Regions from separate parts of the Homo sapiens genome. Here region 2 is linked to region 1. The links are contacts of gene promoters, found by promoter capture Hi-C in blood cells and fetal thymus (Javierre and others, 2016). All regions are on one chromosome and are shown on one strand. Each heading gives the region's core, a stretch centred on a gene start or on the middle of the fragment in contact. The rest is flanking DNA. Distances are from core to core; before and after follow the strand shown. Region 1 holds the start of IPO7 (importin 7). Region 2 holds the start of TRL-CAA5-1 (tRNA-Leu (CAA) 5-1).

The links. Contacts are between HindIII fragments. The CHiCAGO score rates a contact against its expected background, and 5 or more counts as called.
Region 2: a fragment that was not itself captured here is called in contact with the fragment with the promoter of IPO7 in region 1 in 2 of 17 cell types (activated CD4 T cells and M2 macrophages); the score reaches 5.5 in activated CD4 T cells.

Annotation. Positions count from the first base shown.
Region 1 is chr11:9,381,937-9,388,517 of GRCh38, forward strand. IPO7 (importin 7) reads left to right here and starts at 2,716. Exons shown (of 25, transcript NM_006391.3): 1 at 2,716-2,911. The coding sequence starts at 2,828. RefSeq lists an enhancer at 2,718-3,233. The HindIII fragment of the contact is 13,114 bases long and covers 1-6,581 here.
Region 2 is chr11:9,270,360-9,276,940 of GRCh38, forward strand. It overlaps TRL-CAA5-1 (tRNA-Leu (CAA) 5-1), which reads left to right and starts at 4,884; the gene lies at 4,884-4,957. RefSeq lists a silencer at 3,350-3,550. The HindIII fragment of the contact is 193 bases long and covers 3,149-3,341 here.

The DNA of each region.
Region 1 (6,581 bases), core at 1,466-3,965:
ATCTCGACTCACTGCAAGCTCCACTCCCCGGGTTACGCCATTCTCCTGCCTCAGCCTCCCGAGTAGCTGGGACTACAGGCACCGGCCACCACGCCCGGCTAATTTTTTTGTATTTTTATTTTTATTTATTTATTTATTTTATTTTTTATTTTTTATTTTTTTTGAGACGGAGTCTGGCTCTGTCCGCCAGGCTGGAGTGCAGTGGCGCGATCTTGGCTCACTGCAAGCTCCGCCTCTCGGGTTCGCGCCATTCTCCTGCCTCAGCCTCCCGAGCAGCTGGGACTACAGGCGCCCGCTACCGCGCTCGGCTAATTTTTTGTATTTTCAGTAGAGACAAGGTTTCACCATGTTAGTCAGGATGGTTTCGATCTCCTGACCTTGTGATCCGCCCGCCTCGGCCTCCCAAAGTGCTGGGATTACAGGCGTGAGCCACCGCGCCCGGTCTTTTTTGTATTTTTAGTAGAGAGAGGGTTTCACTGTGTTAGCCAGGATGATCTCGATCTCCTGACCTCGTAATCCGCCCGCCTTGGCCTCCCAAAGTGCTGGGATTACAGGCGTGAGCCACCGGGCCAGGCAATTTTTGTATTTTTAGTAGAGATGGGGTTTTGCCATGTTGGCCAGGCTGGTCTCGAACTCTTGACCTCAGGTGATCCCGCCCACCTCAGCCTCTCAAATTGCTGTGGTTACGGTTGTGAGCCACCATGCCCGGCCTAAATTAGGAATAATTCTGTCTTACTTCCAGTACTTCCAGGCACAGTGGCTGGCATATACAAGGTAGTAACATTGCAAAACCCACCGCTTCAGGGAAAGGCTTTCGTGAGCCTTTCCTTCTCTTTTTTTTGTAAATTAAAAACAATAAGTGATCATTTAACACATTGTATTTGAAGGCTTATAATTAATTTTAAGTATATCTGTTTATATAACTTTGTTACAATAATAACAGATATGAAAGGAAATTACTCCAAATCTCACCATCCTGTTAATAGAAAATAAATTATTTTCATTTGCTAACCTTGCTTTTCAGTCTTTGTCCATGTTACAAAGCTATATCCTTCCATAAATACTTTTTTGTTATATTTTTTAATGGCTGTGAAATATTTAATTTACTGGATTCTTGCTATTTGCTTAACCAGTCCTATATTGTTCAACATTTCTCTTCAGAGGCAGAGTGATTTAGTGGAAACAATGGAAAGTTTGAAAACAAAGATCTTAGGTTTGAAATCTTAGTTGAACCTCTTACTACGTGACCTTGGGTAAGTTATTTAACCTTTCTAAAACAAACTTTTTCTTGGCTGTTATAAAAGAGGACTTTTTCTTTCTTTCTTTCTCCCCCACCTCCCTCTTTTTTTAGAGATGGGGTCTCGCTATGTAGCCCAGGCTGTAGCGTAGTGGCTACTCATAGGCACGATCTTAACAGGCTGTCACCTTGAACTTCTGGTCTCAAGCAATCCTCCTGCCTCAACAGGAGGATTACGCCTGGCTAGGAAGGTGTCTTTTATTTTTATTTATTTATTTATTTATTTTTGAGATAGAGTCTCGCTCTGTCACCCAGGCTGGAGTGCAGTGGCATGATCTCGGCTCACTGCAAGCTCCACCTCCTGGATTCACGCCATTCTCCTGCCTCAGTGTAGCTGGGACTACAGGCGCCCACCACCACACCCGGCTAATTTTTTGTATTTTTAGTAGAGACGGGGCTTCACCGTGTTAGCTAGGATGGTCTCAATCTCCTGACCTTGTGATCCGCCCACCTTGGCCTCCCAAAGTGCTGGGATTACAGGTGTGAGCCACCGCGCCTGGCAGGAAGGTGTATTTTAATAGGGATTATGCTTTTACTCTGCATTAAGAGGTGATTTATATGAAGTCCCAACTAAAATTTGGATACTCAATAAAAAGCCATGATTTCAGTATTTGGTAATTACTAATACGTAATGTGATAAAAACCTTTCACACATAAAGTTCATTTAATCTTCCGTGTTATTGCCTTAGGATAAAGTCTCATAAGTGGAATTACTGGGTCAGAGTTTAAACATTTCGTTTCGTTTTGTTTTTTTGAGACGGAGTTTCGCTCTTGTTGCCCAAGCTGGAGTGCAATGGCACGATCTCGGCTCACTGCAACCTCCGCTTCCCGGGTTCAAGCGATTCTCCTGCCTCAGCCTCCCTAGTAGCTGAGACTACAGGCGCGTGCCACCACGCCCGGCTAATTTTTTGTATTTTTAGTAGAAACGGGGTTTCGCCGTGTTAGCCAGGATGCTCTCGATCTCCTGATCTCGTGATCCGCCCGCCTTGGCCTCCCAAAGTGCTGGGATTACAGGCGTGAACCACCGCGCCCGGCAGTTTAAATATTTTAGTGGCTATCAGAAACACATCTCAAATTGCTTTTCAGAAAGTTTCCTTCAATCACGCAGCCATTAGCAATCGATTGCACCACACACTGTATCTGACTCCCTTTATGAACATTGTGGATATAGTATGTGAAACCTTTTGTAACTGATTGTTTTGCTTTTCTTTTTGTGGAACTTGAACATTTTTCGTTTTTGAACAGAAAGACTTGTCTGTAGGAACGACAGCTCAGGCAGCCACGTGGGCTGCGGACTGTGTTTGTGGACTACATCTCCCAAAGTGCTCCGCAGGCGCGCCCACAGGAAGTCGCCGGAGCATCTCCCGCCTCCACGCCGAGGCGAAGAGGTTCTATCCGGGGCCTTGGCGCTTCTCTTTCCTTTCGCGCCGGTTGCCGCTGCGGAGCGCGGCGGGTCCATGTGCGCAGTGAGTGGCGCTATTCCTGGCCCAGTAGCACCCGAGCCCCGGGTTTGACCGAGTCCGCGCTGCGATGGACCCCAACACCATTATCGAGGCCCTGCGGGGCACTATGGACCCAGCCCTGCGTGAGGCCGCGGAGCGCCAGCTCAATGAAGTAAGGACGCCCGGCTAGCGGTGGCGGCGGGCAGGCGGGTGGGCAGAAGTGGCAGGCCGAGCCCCCGGGGCCTGGCCGGAGGCGCGGACGACGTCGTTGAGGGTCCCAGCAGGAGGGTGGGGCGGACATCTGACGGCGACTTCCACGCCGGGGCGCCTCGGTGTGGTGTGGTGGTGGTGGCTGCAGCCAAGGCTGCCTTTGCTTCGGATCCTGAGCTGGGCCTCTGGCTGCGGTCTAGGCATGAGGAGCCGGCTGAGGCGGGGCGGGCGTGACGGGTTGGACACATGGCTGGCTCGGGTGGCTGGCCGACCTCTGGCTCATTCCCAGCTGGTTCCTCACGTCCAGGAGGGGGCGAAACTTACTGGGAGGTTTTTCAGATGTTTCTGAGACCAGTCTCGCCGTCGCAGGGTTTGGAAGGGCTCCTGGGAATGCCGGCTGGTCCTTTGGGGGCTGCGCCTGTCATCCTTGTCACTTTGCTGGGCTGATCAGTGGCCTGCCTCGGGCACAACTTCCTCCTCTCTGGCTGAGTTGCTAGGGAAGGCTTTCAAAGGCAAGCCCGCGCCTCCTTGGCAGGATAGGAGTAGTGCGGGACACTCACAGAGTCTGATCCCTGCTTTTCCGCTGTCCTAATGCTTCAGTCGGGGAGCTGGCTTATGTAGTGGGAAGGATCAGGTGAAGTGCACCCTTCTAGGTATAGCTGCACCATTGATTCCTTGAGTGACCTTGGGCCAGTCGCTTAACCTCTTGATCCTGAGTTTTTCCCATTCATAAAATTACGCCACAGAGTTGCTGTGACAGACAGGTGAGATAATGTTAAGTCTGAGTGCCTTGGAACATGCTGAGCTCCTTATCAGTTCAGATATTGCATTCTCTGAAGGTTTTTTTTTTCCCCCATATTTTGTGGGGACCGCTCCTTGGAAAACAGCTTAATTGCATGAATATTTATTGTACTATCTCCAGTGTCATTCTTTGTTTCTAAACTTTTGCATTTTTACGTATTAATGATCAGTATTTTAAATCCTTCTTAAAAGGGCTGCTGTAACTTTTCTGCCAGTTAGTAACTGTCCTTCAGCATGCTGCTGAATCTGCCAGCTTTACTGAACTTTAGTGTACATTTTTTAACTGAAAAAGAAATCACACTTTAAAATAGAAATTCAACTATTTTATGCGTCTTTTAGCTGGTAAGTAAATAATTTAAAAACATTGTTTATATTGACTTACCAGAAACAGCAGAAATATTACTAACTGGACTTTCAGTGTAAAGGGCTGCACTAGAGATCCCTGCCCTCACGGAACTTACAGTTCAAGAAGACTACCTACAGAGTTTACACAAATTAAATGTAAAATTATTTCAGAATGTTAAATCTATTTTATATGTAAATGAGATCATTATTATACCACACAAAGTGATGATTACATGTTCAAATTTTTAGACTCAGAGTCACCTTGGGAGGAGCTTAGATTTTTTTGGATATAAAATAGTGAGTTGAACCGTATTACCATTTTGAACCATTACCAAACTATGGAAGGAGCAATGGATCACTTTTTGTTTTGATTTGCTTAGTGATAGACATGGGTTAAGTTGAAAATTATTTTGCTTATTAAATAGTAATGCAGTTACAAGCCTAGAAAAGCTAAAAGTTTAGTCATGGTCATTTCTACCATGACTTTGCTCTAATCGCGTATTATTTTGACTAATTATACTTGCATGTAATTATTAATTTTAAAAGTGAGTACTTGAAGAGTTGGTTTGCTTCTACAAAAATGGGGGAAATAATACTTCCTGAAAATCTGAAATTCATTTATTCCTCAAATAGACATTACATGTCTAGTATATGCACTAACATCTTGTAGTAGAAACCTGGGGTATTTCACAAGCTAGTTTTTGGAAGATAAACAAATGATCAAAATAGTATTCAATGCCTTTTTTACTTAACCATTAAACTACTGTTTTGGAATACTGTCAAACAGTGAACACCGCTAATCTGTCAAAGAAAATTTGTTACATGGCCTTTATTTTTGTAATCCTTAACTATTTACATTTCATACATTTCTTTCAATTATAACACCTAGATTTTTAAATATTCTTCCTAAGGTAAATTTTCTATTAGTATATTTACTTTCATTCCATTTTAATACACTACTTCTCCCTCTCCCTTCTTCCATTTAAATATTTTTTGCTTTGACTTTCTTGTGGCAGAACATTGATTTGGGAGACAGATCTCAGACAAGTCTTGAATATTGTTAAGAATGAGGAAGTAACATTTCTGAAAGGCTCTTGCTTTGGAGAAGATAGAAGAACGAATTATTCTATGATGTCTCTCATTCCAGTGAAGCTGTGTTTTGGTTCATTTAGAACCAAAGAATAAGATCATTGACATTTGAATGAATCTCTTCACAAAGTGAAATAATCACTGACTCAATGTAAAATTTGTAAATGTTATTAAAGTGTTTATAGTATAGACAGTTTCGAAACAAAATAGCCCTTCTGCCTCAGAGTCTTTGCACTTAACTCCTTGGAACTCCTTTCACATAGTTATCCCCCTAACTTGTTCTCTCATTTCCTTCCATCCCTGTTCAAATGTCTCCTTATCACTGAGGAGTTCCTTGACCATCATACTCCCTATCTCCTTTCACTTGTTTTTCTCTATAGCACTGATTTGTCATACATATTTGGCTTACTTTTAAAATTAATTTTATTTGGCCAGGCACGGTGGCTCACGCCTGTAATCCCAGCATTTTGTGAGGCTGAGGCGGACTGATCACTTGAGGTTGGGAGTTTGAGACCAGCCTGACCAACATGGAGAAACCCCATCTCTACTAAGAATACAAAATTAGCTGGGCGCGGTGGCGCATGCTTGTAATCCCAGCTACTCAGGAGGCTGAGGCAGAAGAATCGCTTGAACCTGGGAGGCGGAGGTTGCGGTGAGCTGAGATCGTGCCACTGCACTCCAGCCTGGGCAACAGAGTGAGACTCCATCTCAAAAAAATTAATTAATTAATTAAATTTAAAACATTGGCTGGGCATGGTGGCTCATGCCTGGAATTCCAGCACTTTGGGAGTCCGAGGCGGGCGGATCACCTGAGGTTGGGAGTTCGAGACCAGCCTGACCAACATGGAGAAACCCCGTCTCTACTAAAAATACAAAATTAGCTGGGCGTGGTGGCGCATGCCTGTAATCCCAGCTACTAGGGAGGCTGAGGCAGGAGAATCGCTTGAACCCGGGAGGTGGAGGTTGCGGTGAGCCGAGATCGTACCATTGCACTCCAGCCTGAGCAACAAGAGCGAAACTGCGTCTCAAAAAATAAAAATAAAAATAAATAAATAAATAAATTTTTTTTTTTTTGAGACGGAGTCTTGCTCTTGTTGCCCAGGCTGGAGTGCAGTGGCGCAATATGAGCCCACCGCAACTTCTGCCTCCTGGGTTCAAGCAATTCTCCTGCCTCAGCCTCCCAAGTAGCTGGGATTACAGGCGTTTGCCACCACACCTGGCTAATTCTGTATTTTTAGCAGAGATGGGGTTTTACCATGTTGGCCAGGCTGGTCTCCAACTCCTGACCTTGTGATCCGCCCACCTCGGCCTCCCAAAGTGCTGGGATTACAGGAATGAGCCACCATGCCCAGCCTATTTATTTATATTTATTTTTTGAGACAGGGTCTTGCTCCATC
Region 2 (6,581 bases), core at 1,995-4,494, 110 kb before region 1:
ATTATAATTTTTTTTTTTTGAGATGCAGTCTCACTCTGTCGCCCAGGCTGGAGTCCAGTGGCACAATCTTGGCTCACTGCAAGTTCAGCCTCCCGGGTTCACGCCAGTCTCCTGCCACAGCCTCCCGAGTAGCTAGGACTACAGGCGCCCGCCACCACGCCCGGCTAATTTTGTTTTGTATTTTTAGTAGAGACGGGGTTTCACTTCGTTAGCCAGGATGGTCTCGATCTCCTGACTTCCTGATCCGCCTGCCTCGGCCTCCCAAAATGCTGGGATTACAGACGTGAGCCACCGCACCCGGCCATTTAATTATAATTTTTTTTTAATTAAGATGGGTTTTCACCATGTTGCCCAGGCTGGTCTGGAACCCCTAGGCTCAAGGGATCCTCCCACCTCAGCCTCCTAAAGTGCTGGGATTACAGGTGTGAGCCACTGAACCCTGCCTCAACAAGTGTTTTGAAACCATCAATTTGAAGAGACAGGAGATTACTTGCCTTTTTATTACTCCCTCCAGTCTTGCTTCTTGCCTTGAAGGAATGCACGAACAGCAGGGCTATATCTTGCAAGTCTATACCTTGCAAAAGCAACACCAAACTAGAGAGAAGGGAGAATATGATCACAACAGATCAGTCTAAGTAAGAGTGGAGGGAATGAATCCTTAGGAAAGGTCCACACAGATCCACTCACAGAGCCAAACCCCGTTTTGAAAACCTGAATGAGGTATTGACATATATCTTGGATCAAGTATATATAATTGCAAATATACATAATTTGCTGTTTGTAACAGCAAAAACTGTTATAATTACTGTTTGTAACAGCAAAAACTGAAAACAGAGCTGGGCGTGGTGGCTCACACCTGTAATCCCAGCACTTTGGGAGGCCGAGGCGGGCAGATCACCATGTCAGGAGTTTGAGACCAGCCTGGCCAACATGGTGAAACCCCGTCTCTACTAAAAATACAAAAATTAGCTGGGCCTGGTGGCTCGCGCCTGTAATACCAGCTTCTCAGGAGGCTGAGGCAGGAAAATCGCTTAAAACTGGGTGGCAGAGGTTGCAGTGATCGTGCCACTGCACTCCAGCCTGGGAGACAGAGCAAGACTCCGTCTTGCAGGAAAAACAAAACAAAACAAAACAAAAAAACTGAAAACAATCCAAATGCCTAGCTATAGAAGACAGATTAAAGAAACTATAGTTTCTGCCAACGCTGGAATACTATGCAGCTATAAAACAAAACAAGAGCAAGAAAAAAATAAGGAAAAACTGTGTAATATGTTATCAAATGTATAAAAAAGAGAAAATAAAAGAATTTTTTTTTGTATATGCATAGTCTATTTTTGGAAGCATAAACAAAACATTGTTAAAATTGATTGCTTCAGGTGTGGTGGCTCACGCCTGTAATCCCAGCATTTTGGGAGGCCAAGGAGGGCAGATCACTTGAGACCAGCCTGGCCGACATGGTGAAACCACGTCTCTACTAAAAATACAAAAAGTAGCCAGGCATGGTGGCGGGCACCTGTAATTCCAGCTACTCAGGAAGCTGAGGCAGGAGAATCGCTTGAACCCAGGAGGCGGAGGTTGCAGTGAGCCGAGATTGCACCATTGCACTCCAGCCTGGGTGACAGCAAGACTCTGTCTCAAAATAAAAAATAAAATAAAATAAAAATCTGAAAAAAAAATTGATTGCTTCTAGGGAAGGAAACTGAATGGCTGGGATCAGGAATAGAATGGAAATGTTTCACTGTACATTGTTTCATACTTTTTGAGGTTTGAACCACAAGAATGTATTACCTATTTGCATTAATCAGGGTTCTCCAGAGAAACAGAACCAACAGGATATATATAGATATAGAGAAAGAGATTTATTTTGAGAAACTGGCTCATATGATTACGAAGACTGAGAAAGAAGTTCCACGATCTGCTATCTGTAAGCTGGAGGTTCAGGAAAGCCAGTGGTGTAATTCAATCTGAGTCTGGAGGCCCAAGAATCAGATATCCAAGGGCAGGAGATGAAGAATGTCCCAGCTCAAGAGAGAGCAGGCCAGGCATGGTGGCTCATGCCTGTAATCCCAGCACTTTGGGAGGCTGAGGGGGGTGGATCACTTGAAGTCAGGATTTCCAGACCAGCATGGCCAACATGGTGAAACCCCATCTCTACTAAAAATACAAAAATTAGCCAGGAGTGGTGGCATGCACCCGTAATTCCAGCTACTTGGGAGGTTGAGGCATGAGAATTGCTTGAACCTGGGAGGTGGAGGTTGCAGTGAGCCCAGATCGCACCACTGCACTCCAGCCTGGATGACTGAGACTCTGTCTCAAAAAAAAAAAAAAAAAAAAAAAAAAAAAAAAAAAAGAAGAGAGAGAGAACAAATTCTCCCTTCCTCTGCCTTTTTGATGAATTCAGGACCTCAGTGGACTAGATGATGCCCACCCACATTGGTGAGGGTGATCTCGGTCTACCAATTCAGATGCTAACCTCTTCTGGAAATGCTTTACAGACACACCCAGAAATAATGTTTTACTAGCTACCTGGGCATCCATTAGCCCAGTCATGTTGACACATAAAATTAACCATCACACTATTAAAAAATATGTAATAGTCCAGGTGCGGTGGCTCATGCCTGTAATTCCAGCACTTTGGGTGGCTGAGGTGGGCGGATCACCTGAGGTCAGGAGTTCGAGACCAGCCTGACCAACAAGGTGAAACTCCGTCTCTACTAAAAATACAAAAATTAGCAGGGTATGGTGGCGTGTGCCTGTAGTCCCAGCTACTCGGGAGGCTGAGGCACGAGAATTGCTTGAACCCAGGAGGCTGAGGTTGCAGTGAGCTGAGATTGAGCCATTGCACTCCAGCCTGGGCGACAGAGCAAGACTCCACCTGAAAACAAAAAACAAAAACAACTAAGAAATACCTTTTACTGTGAATGTAAGCAATGCCTTGTGAATTCTTCTAGAGATAGCCTATACCTATGCTAGCATGGGTCAGCTCAACTCCACCCAGGCATAACCTATCTACTTTCCAGCTCAGTATAGCATTCAAGAACACATCAGCTGATGAACTCGTGGGTGCTCAAACGCTTTCTCTCCAACACTCAATGGGAGTTCACCATGTACAATCGAAAAAATTCCACGTATAGTGTAGAAAAACGTAAGCTTCACAAATATGGGCTTTCTTAAGACTAGAAACACCAATACATCTAGGGAAGTAGTGATGCACTCAGCTACCTCTGACACATCTTTACAAAAGAAGTCACATATGCCTCACTTCCCCATACCCTGTGTCCCACTAGCCTCCAACACCTTGCCCGGAACCAGCATCAGGATCCTCATGTCTCTCAAACACAAGCTTACTAAATCAGTTGAAAATTAGACATTACCCTTCATCTATCATAACCCACAGCAACAAAGAAGCCACAAAGAATAGTCAGCCTCAGGATAACTCTGATACCCCATGGTGAGGAAGTATGAAGTTGAAGCAACAGGAGGAGCAAATGACTGATGACTTCCCCAAGTGATGCAAGATGCAACTTTCCCAGATGTGTGAGCTTGTGTATTTCTGTTTGAGCTTTTTTTTTTTTTTTGAGATGTAGTCTCTCTTTGTCGCCCAGGCTGAATTGCAGTGGCGCTATCTCGGCTCACTGCAACCTTCGCCTCCTGGGTTCAAGCGGTTCTCTTACCTCAGCCTCCAGAGTAGCTAGGATTACAGGCGTGTGCCACCACACCCGGGTAATTTTTGTATTTTATTAGAGACAAGGGTCTCACTCTGTTGCCCAAGCTGGTCTGGAACTCCTTCGCTCAGGCAATCCACCTACTCGGCCTCCCAAACTGCTGGGATTACAGGCATGAGCCACCACACCCAGCCTGTTTGAGCTTATTTCTATGTGAGTAAGCATTTGTGCATAGTGGTAATCATGTATGTATATTATGTGCTTACATATATTAGATGTATGTGTGTTTGCATGTGTAAATAATTGTATGTGTGTACTTTATATGAGTGTGTGGGCCATGCGTGGTGGCTCATGCCTGTAATTCCAGCACTTGGGGAGGCCGAGGCAGGTGGATCGCCAGAGGTTAGGAGTTCGAGACCAGTCTGGGCAACATGGTGAAACCCCGTCTCTACTAAAAATACCAAAATTAGCCGGGTGTGGTGGCATGTGCCTGTAGTTCCAGCTACTCGGGAGGCTGAGGCAGGAGAATCGCTCAAACCCGGGATGCGGAGGTTGCAGTGAGCCAAGATCATGCCACTACGCTCCAGCCTGGGAGACAAGAGCAAAAGTCCGTCAAAAAAAAAAAAAGAAAGAAAGAAAGGAAGGAAAGAGAGGAAGGAAGGAAGGAGAAAGAAAGGAAAGAGAGAGAGAAAGAAAGGGAGAAAGAGAGAAAGAAAGTGAGAGAGAAAGAAAGAGAGAGAAGAGTGTGTGTGTGGAGGCTGAGACAGGGTAGGGTAGCTGGACCAAGGAAGCAAAAGAGTCCCTTTGGCTCTCCTACAAGCCCAGGAGTGACTCCAGTGCTCCCTTCAGCCTCTTCCCCCTTCTCCCTGGGTCCCCCTAGGTTGAGAGTATTTTGAGAGTATGGGTGGATGACTTTATCTGTGCTGCACCCACCCTTCTCCCTTACACTGTGAACACAGTGGCCTCCTTATTCCCATCAGTTTGAGAGCCAAGAGCTTCCTAGGAAAGGCTGGATGATATAATGAAGGGAAGTGAACGGCACTTGGACCAGATCCCAAAAGGAAGATATATTTAGCCATCTAAATAGCTGAGCTGAGCTCTTAAAAGCTTTGGGGAATAAAATAATTGTTCTATATTTTGATTGCATGGTGATTACACGATTATGTTTTCCAAAACCTATAGAACTGTATATTATAGGAAGCAAAGCATCTTTTAGCTGCCTCCTTAGTGCAGTAGGTAGCGCATCAGTCTCAAAATCTGAATGGTCCTGAGTTCAAGCCTCAGAGGGGGCAAGGTCACCTTATTAAGCTGGCGAAGGAACGCAAGCTTGCCTGTGTTATATTTTTGAGACAGAGTCATTTATTTATTTAATTAATTAATTTATTTATTTACTTATTTAGACAGTTTCTCTCTTGTCGCCCAGTCTGGAGTGCAATGGTATGATCTCGGCTCACTGTAACCTCCGCCTCCCAGCTTCAAGTAACTCTTGTGCCTCAGCCTACTGGGTAGCTGGGATTACAGGCGCCCGCCACCACGCCCAGCTAATTTTTTTTTTTTTGAGATGGAGTCTCGCTCTGTCACCCAGGCTGGAGTGCAGTGGCATGATCTTGGTTCACTGTAACCTCCGTCTCCTGGGTTCAAGCGATTACCCTGCCTCAGCCTCCTGAATAACTGGGATTACAGGTGCTCGCCACCACGACCAGCTAATTTTTGTATTTTTAGTAGAGACGGGGGTTTCACCATGTTGGTCAGGCTGGTCTCGAACTCCTGACCTTGTTATCCACCCACCTAGGCCTCCCAAAGTGCTGGGATTACAGGAGTGAGCCACCATGCCCGGCCTTTTTTTTTTTTTTTTTTTTTTTTTTTTGAGAGGGAATCTTGCTCTGTCGCCCAGGCTGGAGTGCAGTGGCGGGATCTTCGCTCACTACAACCTTTGCTTCCGGGGTTTGAGCAATTCTCCTGTCTCGGCCTCCCGAGTAGCTGGGATTACATGTGCATGCCACCACACCCAGCTAATTTTTGTATTTTTAGTAGACACAGGGTTTTGCCATGTTGGCCAGGCTGGTCTCAAACTCCTGACCTCAGGTGATCCACCCACCTTGGCCTCCCAAGGTGCTGGGATTACACACATGAGCCACCACGCCTGGCCTAATTTTTAAATTTTTAGTGGAGACGGGGTTTTGCTATGTTGGTCAGGCTGGTCTGTAACTTTGGGCCTCTAGCAATCTGCTTGCCTTGACCTCCCAAAGCGCTGGAATTACAGGTGTGAGCCACTGCTCCTGGTCCCAGATCTTGTAATTAATACAGATATGTGGACCATAAAAGGTAATATAATTCCCGTGAAATGTAAAATACATAGATTTTTTTTTTGGTAAGCCTATACAAACTTCACCTAGAAAAAACACCACTCCCATGTAGTAGGTTTTGACAAACGTTGGAACTGCCAAAAGCCCCCACCAAAACAACCTACCTGGGCTGCCATGGGCAAGACAATAAAGTGAGAAGCAACTCAACTGACCACCTTTGAGGCTGGGACCCTGGGGTGATATAGCTGGGCCACTCCTTGGCCTGCTGGCTCAACTCCTGCCTGCCACCCTCAAGGTTTGCTAAACTCAAGTTGTGAGTTATCAGCATATGTAACCTGGCCCCAGGGGCCCTGCAGCTGACAGGCAGAGCTGCTGCTCATATTTGTGTACATGGTACCATGAGACACCATCATTGTACTCATTATTAATTTATATGGTTGACGACAGTTTTCCAACAGATGGCAGTAAAATATCTTAAGAAAGAGGCACCTGGCCAGGCGCAGTGGTGCGTGCCTGTAGTCCCAGCACTTTGGAAGGCCTAGCTGTGAGGATTGCTTCAGCCCAGAATTTCAAGACCAGCCTTGGCAATGCAGTGAGACCCAGCACCCCC